Linked DNA regions of Homo sapiens: region 2 is linked to region 1. Evidence: promoter capture Hi-C in 16 types of primary human blood cells and fetal thymus (Javierre and others, 2016). All regions are on one chromosome and are shown on one strand. The core of a region is centred on a gene start or on the middle of the fragment in contact, and the rest is flanking DNA. Distances in the headings are between cores, read along the strand shown.

What was found. The method cuts DNA at HindIII sites, captures the fragments that hold promoters and counts their contacts. A CHiCAGO score of 5 or more calls a contact.
Region 2: a contact is called between a fragment that was not itself captured here and the fragment with the promoter of DDC in region 1, in 1 of 17 cell types (erythroblasts). The highest score is 7.0, in erythroblasts.

The regions. Positions count from the first base shown.
Region 1 is chr7:50,564,155-50,570,204 of GRCh38, forward strand. It overlaps DDC (dopa decarboxylase), which reads right to left and starts at 1,251. Exons shown (of 15, transcript NM_001082971.2): 1 at 1,131-1,251. The HindIII fragment of the contact is 1,002 bases long and covers 416-1,417 here.
Region 2 is chr7:51,093,792-51,099,841 of GRCh38, forward strand. All of the region lies in intron 6 of COBL (cordon-bleu WH2 repeat protein), which reads right to left. Among named protein-coding and RNA genes, the nearest start is that of COBL, 220 kb to the right of the region's middle. The HindIII fragment of the contact is 982 bases long and covers 2,593-3,574 here.

The DNA of each region.
Region 1 (6,050 bases), core at 1-2,500:
TCCCTGGTTTCAAAAATGTCACATATCCACTTTGCCAGGACTTCCAGGGTAGAGTTCTATAGGGTCATCTTCATCCTACACCGCATCCAGATAAGCACAGGGAGCAAGGCTGAATGCTGGAGGGACTTACCCCAGCCATGGGAGCAGCGCTTGTCGCCCTGGACCTACACACTGGATTGCTTGGCTGCCCGACAGCACCAAGTGCAAACGGGCTACATTCACATTTCGTCTCTGCCAGCTGCAAGATCTTATGCCATCCTCCTCCCCTCCTCTGGCTGTTTGCTCACTTGTGAAATGGGGATGTGACTGGAGGTGAAGAAGGCAAACCTTCTAGACAGAGCCCAATGTAAACTGACCACTCAGAAGTAATGGTTTTAACTCACGCATGATGGAGAGCAATGATTTCCATCGATTAAGCTTTGATTCTTATATACTTCCGACAACAGACTTAAAACCAGGAGAACTTCGACTCCTTGAAGTCGATAACCGAACAATTCTCCCAATAGAAATTCCTATCCGCATATGTTTTCAGATGGGAATTGTACTCAGCATGGCAAGTTGGTGGGAAAGATCTTCTAATTCTCCTCAAATCACACTGCATAGGTAGACACCAAATTGACCTCTAAGTAAACTATAACATACACCAAAAGGAGAGAGCCCTGACGGAGCCTCAGATGTTATAAAGGGAAGGGCAGAGTTCACATTTACTAATCACCTCCATAAAATCATGGGATTTAATCCTCACAAGGTAGATACTAAGAAAATCCTCATTTACAGAAGAAACAGAGGCTGGGGGAATAAAATACCCAACACCATCCCTGGTGGTGCATGGAAAAAATAGAATCACATCTGGCCCGCATTTGCTACTGAGCCAGTCATGAAATCATTCCCAGCACCTATCAAACATGTGTCACTGGAGTGACTGTGTGTGCATGGAGAGCCACCAAGTGCACAGCCCCCACTGAACAAAAACCCCTGCCAGCCTGCAGCAGAAGAGAAAGCACCACACAAGCTCCCTCAAGTGAGTTAACCTTTAAGCAAATGTTCAGTAACATGGGGCCAGAGAGTCAAGGTACATGTTGCTGTTTTCCACTACTACAATCTGAGTAGGTATAAAATCAGAGACTTACATGCTGGAAATTCGAATTCCTTACAGGGCTACTCTCCTTGATGGGATTCTCCAACTTTGGGGACTGAAGAGCATGTGGAGAAGCTGCTGAGGCACTCGGCACTGAGACAGTCACTCTTCTTGAAACTCCAAGCCACACGTTTCCCTCTTCTTGCATTTCCAGCCACATGTGCCAGTTAAACATTAATTCCTGATGGTGACAAAGGTCAAGGAAATCTTGAGAAATAGCTCGCCTCTGGGAATCCTGAGAGCACATTCTGAAGAGACTGTTTCATTCCAAATCCTGGAAGCTTGGATCTTTCTTATGTAATTCTACATACATCCCATCTTTTACTAAGCAGCCCTGATTTCAAGTTTGGAGCCCATTAAGTCATCTGATATGTTCCAGCCCTGCACCAGGTGATGCCTGCATTGCACACAGCCTCCTGCCCCTGAAGGCAGCCCCAAAGTAAGCCTGCACTTCCCGGTGCAGCACTCAGCAATATGGGTAAGATTTCCAGGTTCAGATATCAGCAGAACCCAGGAACTCACCTTCCTTCCCCAAACCCATCAAAATCATAGTTGAGATGCATGAAACAATACTCTGAGTGGAATTTGGACAAATTTATAAAAAAACCCCAAAGTCGATAGAATTTTATGAGAGCACAAAGCAGGGCTGAGAAAGCCACATTGAGAAGTTGAGCAGGCACAGCCTGCAGGGATCTTAGGAGCTGGTCTTTCTGGCAGACCCCCAGCAGCTCCAAGCGTGGGGCTCAGTGGGTGTGAAGAGCAGAGTGAGAGTGAGGCTGGCTGCGGGCAGCTCATTAAAGGACTGGAAACAAGGCAGAGAGGGCTGTCACTAGAGCCATTTGTCACAGGCTAGATGCAGGGAAGAGCTCTCCTTGCTCTATCCTAGGGGACTGGAGCAGGCTGGGGCGGGGCACCTAGGGTTCCTATTGTTAGGACTGGAACTGGAGAGAGAAGCAGAGTGACATTGAGGAGTCTCAAAACCTCCACAGGAGCCATTGGAGGAAAGAGGGAAAAGAGAAAGAATGGCAAGTGAGCCCTCCAATGACGCACACCCAAATGCTCCCGCCTGGGGTCTCACAGGAGCTGAGAACCGAAGAAGTGATTGTCCTTGGTAAGGGGAAGAGTGAGGGAAGGGCTCCAAAGAGGGAACAGCCTCTGCAAAGTTACTGAGGATCAAGCTCGGCATCTCCCAGGCCCTGACAGAAGGCCAACTCCTAAGGACCATTCAAAGTAGGGGAGGGGGAGTCTTGCAAGCCACGTTACGTAATTTGTATCCCCCCAACTGTAATAGAAGGCATTGAAGTGTTTCTAGAAAGCAGTAACCTTAGCTTACTTATGGTTTAAGATCACTCTGGCTCTGGGGTAGAAAATGGATCAGAGGGAGATAAGGGTGAAAGGGTTAGACCCTTTAAGTTGGACCACCAATTCCCACCACATTCCTTGGATTTCTGCACTTTCCTGCAAACCAGGAGTGAATTCAAGTGAATCCATTCTAGGAGATGGGCTGGGGGAGGGAGGGGGGGCTTGAGATGAAGAAGCGTGCTAATATTCCCCATAAGTGCGTGTGTGTGTGTGCATGTTAGGAGGTTGCTGGACAAGGGGAGGAGTCAAGGGGATGGAACGACTACCCAGTGATGAAGCCAGTGGGCAGGGGATGACGGTCATAGACTGAGAGGAAGAAGACTGGGGTGGACCAGTATTGGGTGTGGGGAGGTGAAGGACACCAAGGATTCAGTTTGGGAATTAAATTTCAGATATCCACAAATCGTGTGATTTGAGATGTCCAGTACAGCTCAGAAAAAGAGGCCCAGACAGGAAATAAAGTTATGGGTTGAAAGTGTTTAGATGATATTTGAAGCAATAGGACTGGAAAAAAAACATCCATAGAGAAGAGAGACCTCAGTTTTGAAATCCTCAAAAAAGTGAACTAGTAGTGTCCAACTACTGAGCAACAGTTATCTCTCAATAGAGAAATCTACATAGGAATCAGCATCCGTTCCCAGAAGGGACTCTTTTTACATTTCCTTTCTTCTTGCAGGTGTGGGATTTATGGGGAATAGGGGTGAGGCTTCGAGGACCAAAGAAAGAAATCTAGGGCAGGATTTCCCAACCATGGCACTTTATCAGTCAGGTTTCTCCAGAAAACTGGAAATAATAGGATATGGATATAGGAATATAAGAAGAGATTTATTGTAGAAATTGGCTCATGTGATTATGGAGGCTGGGAAGTCCCACAGTCTTCCATCTACAGGCCGGAGAACTAGATAAGCTGGTGGTGTAATTCATCCTGAGTTTGAAGGCCCAAGAGCAGGAGAAGATGGATATCCCAGCTCAAGAAGAGAAAGAATTTGCCCTTCATCCACCTTTTTGTTCTATTCTGGCACTCAACAAACTGGATGTTACCAGCCCACACTGGTGAGGATGGATCTTGTTTACTTTCTGGAGATTCCAATGCCAATCTCTTCCAGAAACACCCTCATGAACACAACCAGAAATCCTGCTTTACTGGCCCTCTGGGCATCTCTTAGCCCACTTCAGTCGACACATAACATTAACCATCCCAGCACTATTACATTAAGGGTGTATAATTCTCTGTGATGGGAGCTGTCCTGTGCATTATAGAATGTTTAGCAGCATCCGGCTTTTACTCATTAGGTGCCAGTAGTCCCCAGTTGTGACAACCAAGAATGTCTCCAGGCATTGCATGTTTCCTGGTGGCAAAATTGCCCCTGGTTGAGAAAGGCTGATCTCGTGTGACCTTGTAATGCCCCAGGGCAGGGGAAGGTAGCATGGGTTGCAGCCAAGGCTGTTCCTGGAAGAGGGTGAGTCTGCTCTTCCACAGGAGCAGCAACGGCCATCTCTCATGATGCCAGAGTGGCCTGCAGTCAGTCGCAACAGTGTGCATGTTGCAGGAGGGAGACTGCAGGTGCAGACGTGACTGTGAAAGAGATTCACAGTGCACCTGAGTGTGGCTCCTGGGAGCAGAAGAGACGGGGCTTCCTGCTGAGACCACTGTGTGCCAGAGCAAAGTGGGCACTGGGGGCTTTGCTGAGGCCATGGGTGAAGAGAGAGGAGCTCTACTGCTATGCCCACACTCTGGCCAAGCCCACAGACAGGAGTGTCAGGGGAACTGAGTTTTCCTGGAAAAGCCAATTTGTTTAGGAGCTGGTGAGAATATCAATTCTGTTTTCTTTTCTTCCAGCGTAGAAGTTTTTTATTTTAATGAAGTCCAATTCATCAGTCCTTTTCCTCCATAGATTGTATTTAATGGAGGAAACTGGTGATTTATCTAAAAGGTCATCATCAAACTAAACTAGATTTTCTCTTGTGTCATCCTCTAGGAGTTTTATAGTTTTGCATGTTACCTTTAAGTCTATGAACCATTTTGAGTAAAGGTCTAGATCTAGATTCTTTTTTTTTTTTTGCATGTGGACGTCCATTTATTCCACAACCATTTGTCAAAGAGCCTATCCTTTCTTCATTGTATTGCCTTCACTCCTTTGTCAAAGACCATTTCACCATATTTGTGTGGGTCTATTTCTGAGCTCTCTATTCTGTTCCATTCATCTGTCTATTCTTTTACCAATAGCACTTTCTTAACTACTGTAGCTTTGTAGTAAGTCTTTTATTCATTTACTTATTAATTTACTTACTTATTTGAGACACAGTCTCGCTCTGTTGCCCAGGCTGGAGTGCAGTGGCGCTATCTCGGTGCACTGCAACCTCCACTTCCTAGGTTCAAGCAATTTTTGTGCCTCAGCCTCCCGAGTAGCTGAGATTACAGGCATGTACCACCACGCCTGGCTAATTTTTGTATTTTTAGTAGAGATGGGGTTTCACCATGTTGCCAGGCTGGTCTTGAACTCCTTACCTCAAATGATCCACCTACCTCGGCCTCCCGAAGTGCTGGGATTACAGGCGTGAGCCACTGCGCCTGGCTGTAGTAAGTCTTTAAGTTGGGCAGTGTCAGTCCTCCAAGTTTGTTTTTCTCTCAAAAGTCTCAAATCATTGGCCTCAGACTATTGGTGGGTCATGGAATGGGTTTTGCAGGTCTCATGACCAGCATTTTAAAAAATGCAATAGAACAGAATAAAATATAAAACAGGAGACATTGCACCTAATGATGAAAATATTGCTTTCTGAACCTTTCAATGATGTACAGGAATATGTGTACTGGGTCATAATATAGAATGCATTTCTTACTGTAGGTTGTGATCAGACTGCAAAGGCCTCTATCAAGAGATGATCTCATTCTATAAAAATAAAGTGGGTCGAGATTTGTGAAATCTGAAAGTGAGGATTAATCAATGACTACAAAAAGCTAGACAAGGCAACTCATGGACAACTAGCTATGCCTATGTTTTCTATGTAATTTTAAAAATTACATTGAAATGTTCCATAGTCATGTATAGTTTTTCTTCTGTGAATTTCCTGCTTCCGTTTCTCATATGCCTTCTAGCCAGGTAGTGAAAAAGACTCAGCTTTTCAGGGGGACAGCCTAGTGCAATTTGGAATTAGGTTTCTCTGTTTAATTGACTTGTCTTTAGTGTGCCAGACCAGTCAAAGAATCCTGCATCAAAATCGAGAGAATGAACAAGCCTTCATCACCATAGCACATTTATATAAAAAGAAAGGGAAAGATGTTGTGGGAAGTCAGGGACCCCGAACGGAGGGACCTGCTGAAGCCGTGACAGAAGAACATAAATTGGGAAGATTTCATGGACATTTATCACCTCCCCAATCACTACTCTTATAATTTCCTATGCCTATCTTCACTTTAATCTCTTAACCCTGTCATCTTTGTAAGCTGAGGATATATGTTGCCTCCGGACCCTGTGATGATTGCATTAACTGCACACACTGATCGTAAAGCATGTGTGTTTGAACAATATGAAATCTGGGCACCTTGAAA
Region 2 (6,050 bases), core at 1,834-4,333, 530 kb after region 1:
GCTGAGTCAGGAGGATTGCCTGAGCCCAGGGATTGAAGGCTGCAGGAGGCCATGATGATATCACTGCATTCCAGCCTGGGCGATGGCACCAGGCCCTGACACCAAAAGAAAAAAAAAAAAAGTATAGTCAAGATATAGAATTACCCTAAGTGGCAATCAACAGATACTTGGATAAATTGTTTTTTATATACATATATATATATGTATATAAAACACATATATTTATATTACATATATATGTAACAATACACAGCCTTTAAAAAGAAGAAAATTCTGTGATTTGTGACATCATGGGTGGAACTGGAGGACATTATGCTAAGTAAAATAAGACAGCACAAAGAGACAAATACTGTATGTTCTCACTTATATGTGGAATCTAAAACAGTTGATCTCATAGAAACATAATAGAAAGGTGGCAACCAGAAGCTGAGGAGTAGAGGAGAGAGAGGAAAAGAGGAGACATTGGTTAAAGGGTGCCAAGTTTCAGTTAAACTGGAGGAATAAGTTTCAGTGCCCTGCATGGTGACCATAGTTAATAACAATGTGTTGTATATCCCATAATTGCTTAAAGAATATAATTTTAATAATCTCACCACAAAAAAAAGTTAGTGAGGTAATATATATACATTAATTAGCTTGATTGAATATTTTGACAATGCATACATAGATTAAAAATCACATTGTACCCCATAAATATAAACAATTATTATTTATCAATTAAAAGTAAATAAATTTTTAAAATAAAGGAGAAATAAAGACCTAGCTAGATAAATAAAAGCTGATGAAGTTGATCATCTCTAGACCTGCATTACAAGAATTGGTAAAGGAAGTCTGTCAAGTTGAAAGGAAAGGACACTAGTTAGCAACATGAAAGCATATGAATATATAAAGTTACTCTCTGATGGAGTAACTATATAGACAAATACATAATCCTGGAATATAATATGTTCACAATAGTGTGTGAATAATTTTTAATTCTGGTAGAGAATTTAAAAAATAAAAGCATAAAAATATAAGTATAAAACTGTGAATAAATACAAAGTATGAAAATATGTACTTTGTGACATCAAAATATGATGTGTATAGGGTGAAATGCAAAGGAAAACAGCTTTTGTATGTTACTGAAGTTAAATTGTTATCAATTTAAAAGAGATTGTTATAAGATTTTTATGTAATCCTCATGGTAAGCACAAAGAAAATACCTACAAAAGATGCACAGGAGAAATGAAAAGGAATCAAAGTCTGTGTATTAGTCTGTTCTCATGCTGCTAATTAATAAAGGCATACCAAAGAATGGGCAATTTATAAAGGAAGGAGGTTTAATTAACTTACAGTTCCACATGGGTGGGGAGGCCTCACAATCACAGTGGAAGGTGAATGAGGAGCAAAATCATGTCTTACATGGCGGCAGGCAAAGACAGCATGTGCAGGGGAACTCCCCTTTATAAAACCATCAGATCTCATGGGACTTATTCACTATCATGAGAACAGCAAGGGACAGATCCACCACCATGATTCAATGACCTCCCATTGGGTCCCTCTCACGACACGTGAGAACTATGGGAGCTAAAACTGAAGATGAGATTTGAGTGGGGGACACAGCCAAACCATATTACTATGTAACTACAAACGTCAACAAAATACAAAGGAGAGTGCCAACAGAATAAAAGAGCAACAAAACTACAAGATATACGGAAACCAATTAACAAAATAGTAACAAGTCCTTCTCTATTAGTAAATAATTAAATGTAAATGGATTAAACTCCCCAATCAAAATATATAATCAAAATATTTAATCCATTCATGGCTGAATGGATTAAAAAACAAGATCCAACTATACACTGTCTACAAAAGATTCACTCTGGATATAAGGACATAAATAGGCTGGAAGTAAAAGGAGGGAAAAAGATATTCCATGCAAATAGTAACTAAAAGAGTGAATATGGCCATAATTACATCAAATAAGATAGACTTCAAGTCAAAAACTGTCATAAAACAAAGAAGGACCTTATATAATGATAAACGATCTACTCACTAGGAAGGTATAAAAACTATAAATACATGCGCATCTACCAGCAGTGTATTCAAATACATAAAGCAAACATTGACATAATTGAAAGTAGAAATAGACAGAAACACAATTAAAGTAGGATATTTCAATGCTCCACTTTCAATAATGAATAGATTAACCAGAGAGATCCATAAGTAATAGAGGACTTGAACAACAATATAGACCAATGGGATCTAACAGATACCTATCTCTGTCTCTTTCTCTGTCTCTATGTTATATAGAACATTCTCTATGATAGATCACATTTAAAGCCACAAAAGAAGTCTTAACAAGATTAAAAATATGAAAATCATATCAAATATCTTTTCTGACTATAAATAATGGAATGAAGCTAGAAATCAATAGTAAAACGAAAAGTGAAAAAGTCACAAATATGTGGAAACTGAATAATACAATCTTGAACAACCAATGGTTCAAAGAAGAAATCACAAGGGTAGTCAGAAAATATATTGAGACAAATGAAAATAAAACCATAATATGCCAAAACTCATGGGATTCAGGCAAAGCAATTCTAAGAGGAAAGCTTGTAATAATAAACACCCATATGAAAAACAACGAAAGAGCTCATCAGCAATATGACTTTGTACCTCAGGAAACTGAAAGAACAAATTAAACCAACATTTAATAGAAAGATTAAGGCAGAAATAAATGAAATAGAAAATAGAAAAAGGAAAAAAGAACTTTGGTTAAAATATTAACAGAATTTCAGTTTTTTTAAAAGATCAACAAAATTGACTACCCTTAGTTACAGTAAGTAAAAAATGAGAGAAGACTCATATTTTAAAAATTAGAAAGAGACATTACAAGTGATGCTACAAAAACAAAAAAGATCATAGGAGGCTATTGTGAATAATTACACACCAACCAATTGGATAACCTAGAAGAAATGGATAGATTTCTACAAACATATATCCTACTAAGACTGAGTTATAAAGAAACAAAAATTCTGGACATAACCTATAAGCAGTCAGGAAATCGAATCAGTAACCAAAAACCTTCCAACAAAGAAAAGCCCACAACCAGATGGCTTCAATGGAGAATTCTACCAAATACTTAAAGAACAAATACAAATTCTTTTCAAAATCTTTCCAAATATTGATGAGGAGGAAGACTTCCAGACTCATTTTATGATGCCAGCAGGACCCTGACACCAAAAATAAGACAAAGATAGTATAAGAAAATTACAGACCAGTATCCCTGATGAAACATTGGTATAAAAATTCTCAACCAAGCACTAGCAAACAGAATTCAACATCACAATAAAAGGATTATACACTACAATCACACGGGATTTATTCCTGGAAGGTAAGAATGCTTCAATATAAAAACATCAATCAATGTAATATGCCACAGTGAAAGACAAAAACCATACAAAACTCAACACCCTTTTATGATTTAAAAAAACACTCAACAACTAGGAATCAAAGGAAATTACCTAAACTTAACAAAGTCCACACATAAAAATCCCACAGCTGACATCATACTCAATTGTGAAAAACTGAAAGCTTTCTCTTTAAGACGAGGAAGAAGGAAAGAATACCTTCTCTTCCCATTTCTATTGAAAATAGTGTTGGGAGTCCTAGCCATAACAATTAGGCAAGAAAAAGAAATATAAGGCATCTAAATTGAAAACGGAAGAAGTGAAATTATTCCTTTTGCATATACATGATTTTATATGTAGAAAATCCTAAAGATTTGACAAAAATGCTGTTAGAACTAATACATACATTCAGCAAAGTTGCAGGATACAAAATCAATTCCAAAAAATCAGTTTTGTTTTTATACACTAACAATAAACAATCTAAAAAGGAAATTAAGAAAATAATTTAATTTGCAGTTGCATTAAAAATAATAAAATACTTAGAAATAAGCTTAATCAGGCTGGGTGCAGTGGCTCACACCTGTAATCCCAGCACTTTGGGAGGCCGAGGCGGGTGGATCACAAGGTCAGCAGATCGAGACCATCCTGGCTAACACAGTGAAACCCTGTCTCTACTAAAAATACAAAAAAATTATCCGGGCATGGTGGCGGGCACCTGTAGTCCCAGCTACTCAGGAGGCTGAGGCAGGAGAATGGCATGAACCCGGCAGGCGGAGATTGCAGTGAGCCAAGATTGCGCCACTGCACTCCAGCCTGGACAACAGAGCGAGACTCCATCTCAAAAAAAAAAAAAAAAAAAGCAATAAGCTTAATCAAGGAGATAAAAAAGACTTGCACACTGAAAACTACAAAACATTGCTGGAATTAGAGAAGACACAATAAATATTTTCATGAAAGTATTAATAATGTTAAAATGTCCATGCTACCCAAAACAATCTATACATTCAAAGCAATCACTACCAAAATCCCAATAGCAGTTTCTTTTTTTTTTTTGGAGAAATAGGAAAAACAAATCCTAAAGGTCATGATGGAATCTCAAAGTACTCCAAATAACCAAAGCAATCTTGAGGGGAAGAAAACAATAAAACATAGCTGGAAGCCTCACACTTTCTGGTTTCAAAACATATTACAAAGCTACTATAATGAAAACAGTATGGTACTGACATAGAGAACAATGTGTAAATCAATGAAACAGAATAAGGAGCTCAAAAATAAACTTTCATGTATATAATCTAATGATCTTTGATAAAGGTGTTAACACAATGTGGAAGATAGTTTCTTCAACAAATGGTGTTTGGAAAATGCAAAATATTCAAATACAAAAGAATGAAATTGGGCCCTTACCGTTAACCATATAAAAAAATTAAAATGGATTAAACATCCAAATGTAAGACCTGAAATTATAAAGTTCCTAGAAGAAAACATAGAGGGAAATCTTTATGACATTCTATTTGGCAATGGTTTCTTAGATATGGCACCAAAAGTACAGACAACAAAAGCAAAAATAGACTAATGTGAGTATATCATACTTAAAAGCTATTGTGCAACAAAGGAAACAATCAACAGAGTGAAGAGGGAACCTATAGAATGAGAGAAAATATCTATAAACCATATGTCTGAAAGGGGGTTAATATATAGACTATATAAAGAGCATCAAGTCAACAATGACAATAAGCAAACAATCTGATTTACAAAGAGGCAAAGAATTTGAAGAGACGTTTCTCCAAGGAAGATATACAAATGGCCACAAAGCATATGAAAAGATGCTCAACATCACTAATCATCTGGGAAATGCAAATCAAAATTACAATAAGATATCACCTCACTTCCACTAGGATGGCCACTATCAAAAAAAAAAAAAAAGAGAGAAAACAAGTGTTGGTGAGGATGCGGAGAAATTAGAATTCTTATGCATTGTTAGTAGGAATGTGGAATGATACAAGTACTATGGAATAAGTATAAAGTACCTCAAAAAATTAAAAATAGAATTACCACATAATCTAGCAATCCCACTTCTGGATATACATCCAAAAGAACAGCAAACAGAATTTCAAAGAGATGTGTTCTTGTTCACTGCAGCACAGTTCACAATAACCAAGAGGTGGAAGCAACATAAATATCTATTGATGGATGAATGCATAAAGAAAATGTGGTCTATACACAGAGTGGAACATTATCAAGGAAATTCTGACACATGCTGTAACTTAGAGAAACTTTGAAAAGGTTATGCTAAGTGAAATAAGCCAGTCACAAAAAGACAAATAATCGCATAATTCCATTTACATGAGCTATATAAAGTAGTCAAACTTTAGAAAGTAGAATGGTGGTTGCCAGGAGCTTGAGGGAGGGGGAAAAGATGAATTATTTTTCAATGGGTATAAAATTTCAGTTATGCAATATGAAAAAGTTCTAGTGATCTAGAGGTGCCTATATTAAACATGACACTTAAAAATGATTAAGATTATACATTTCATGCTATGTGGTTTTTTTAACCACAATTTTTTAACCACCATTATTATTAATAATAAAGAGTCCTTGTCATCTGGTTAGCTCACATTCGGTTTGTGATAATATCACCAGAATTCTTTCAAATAAATG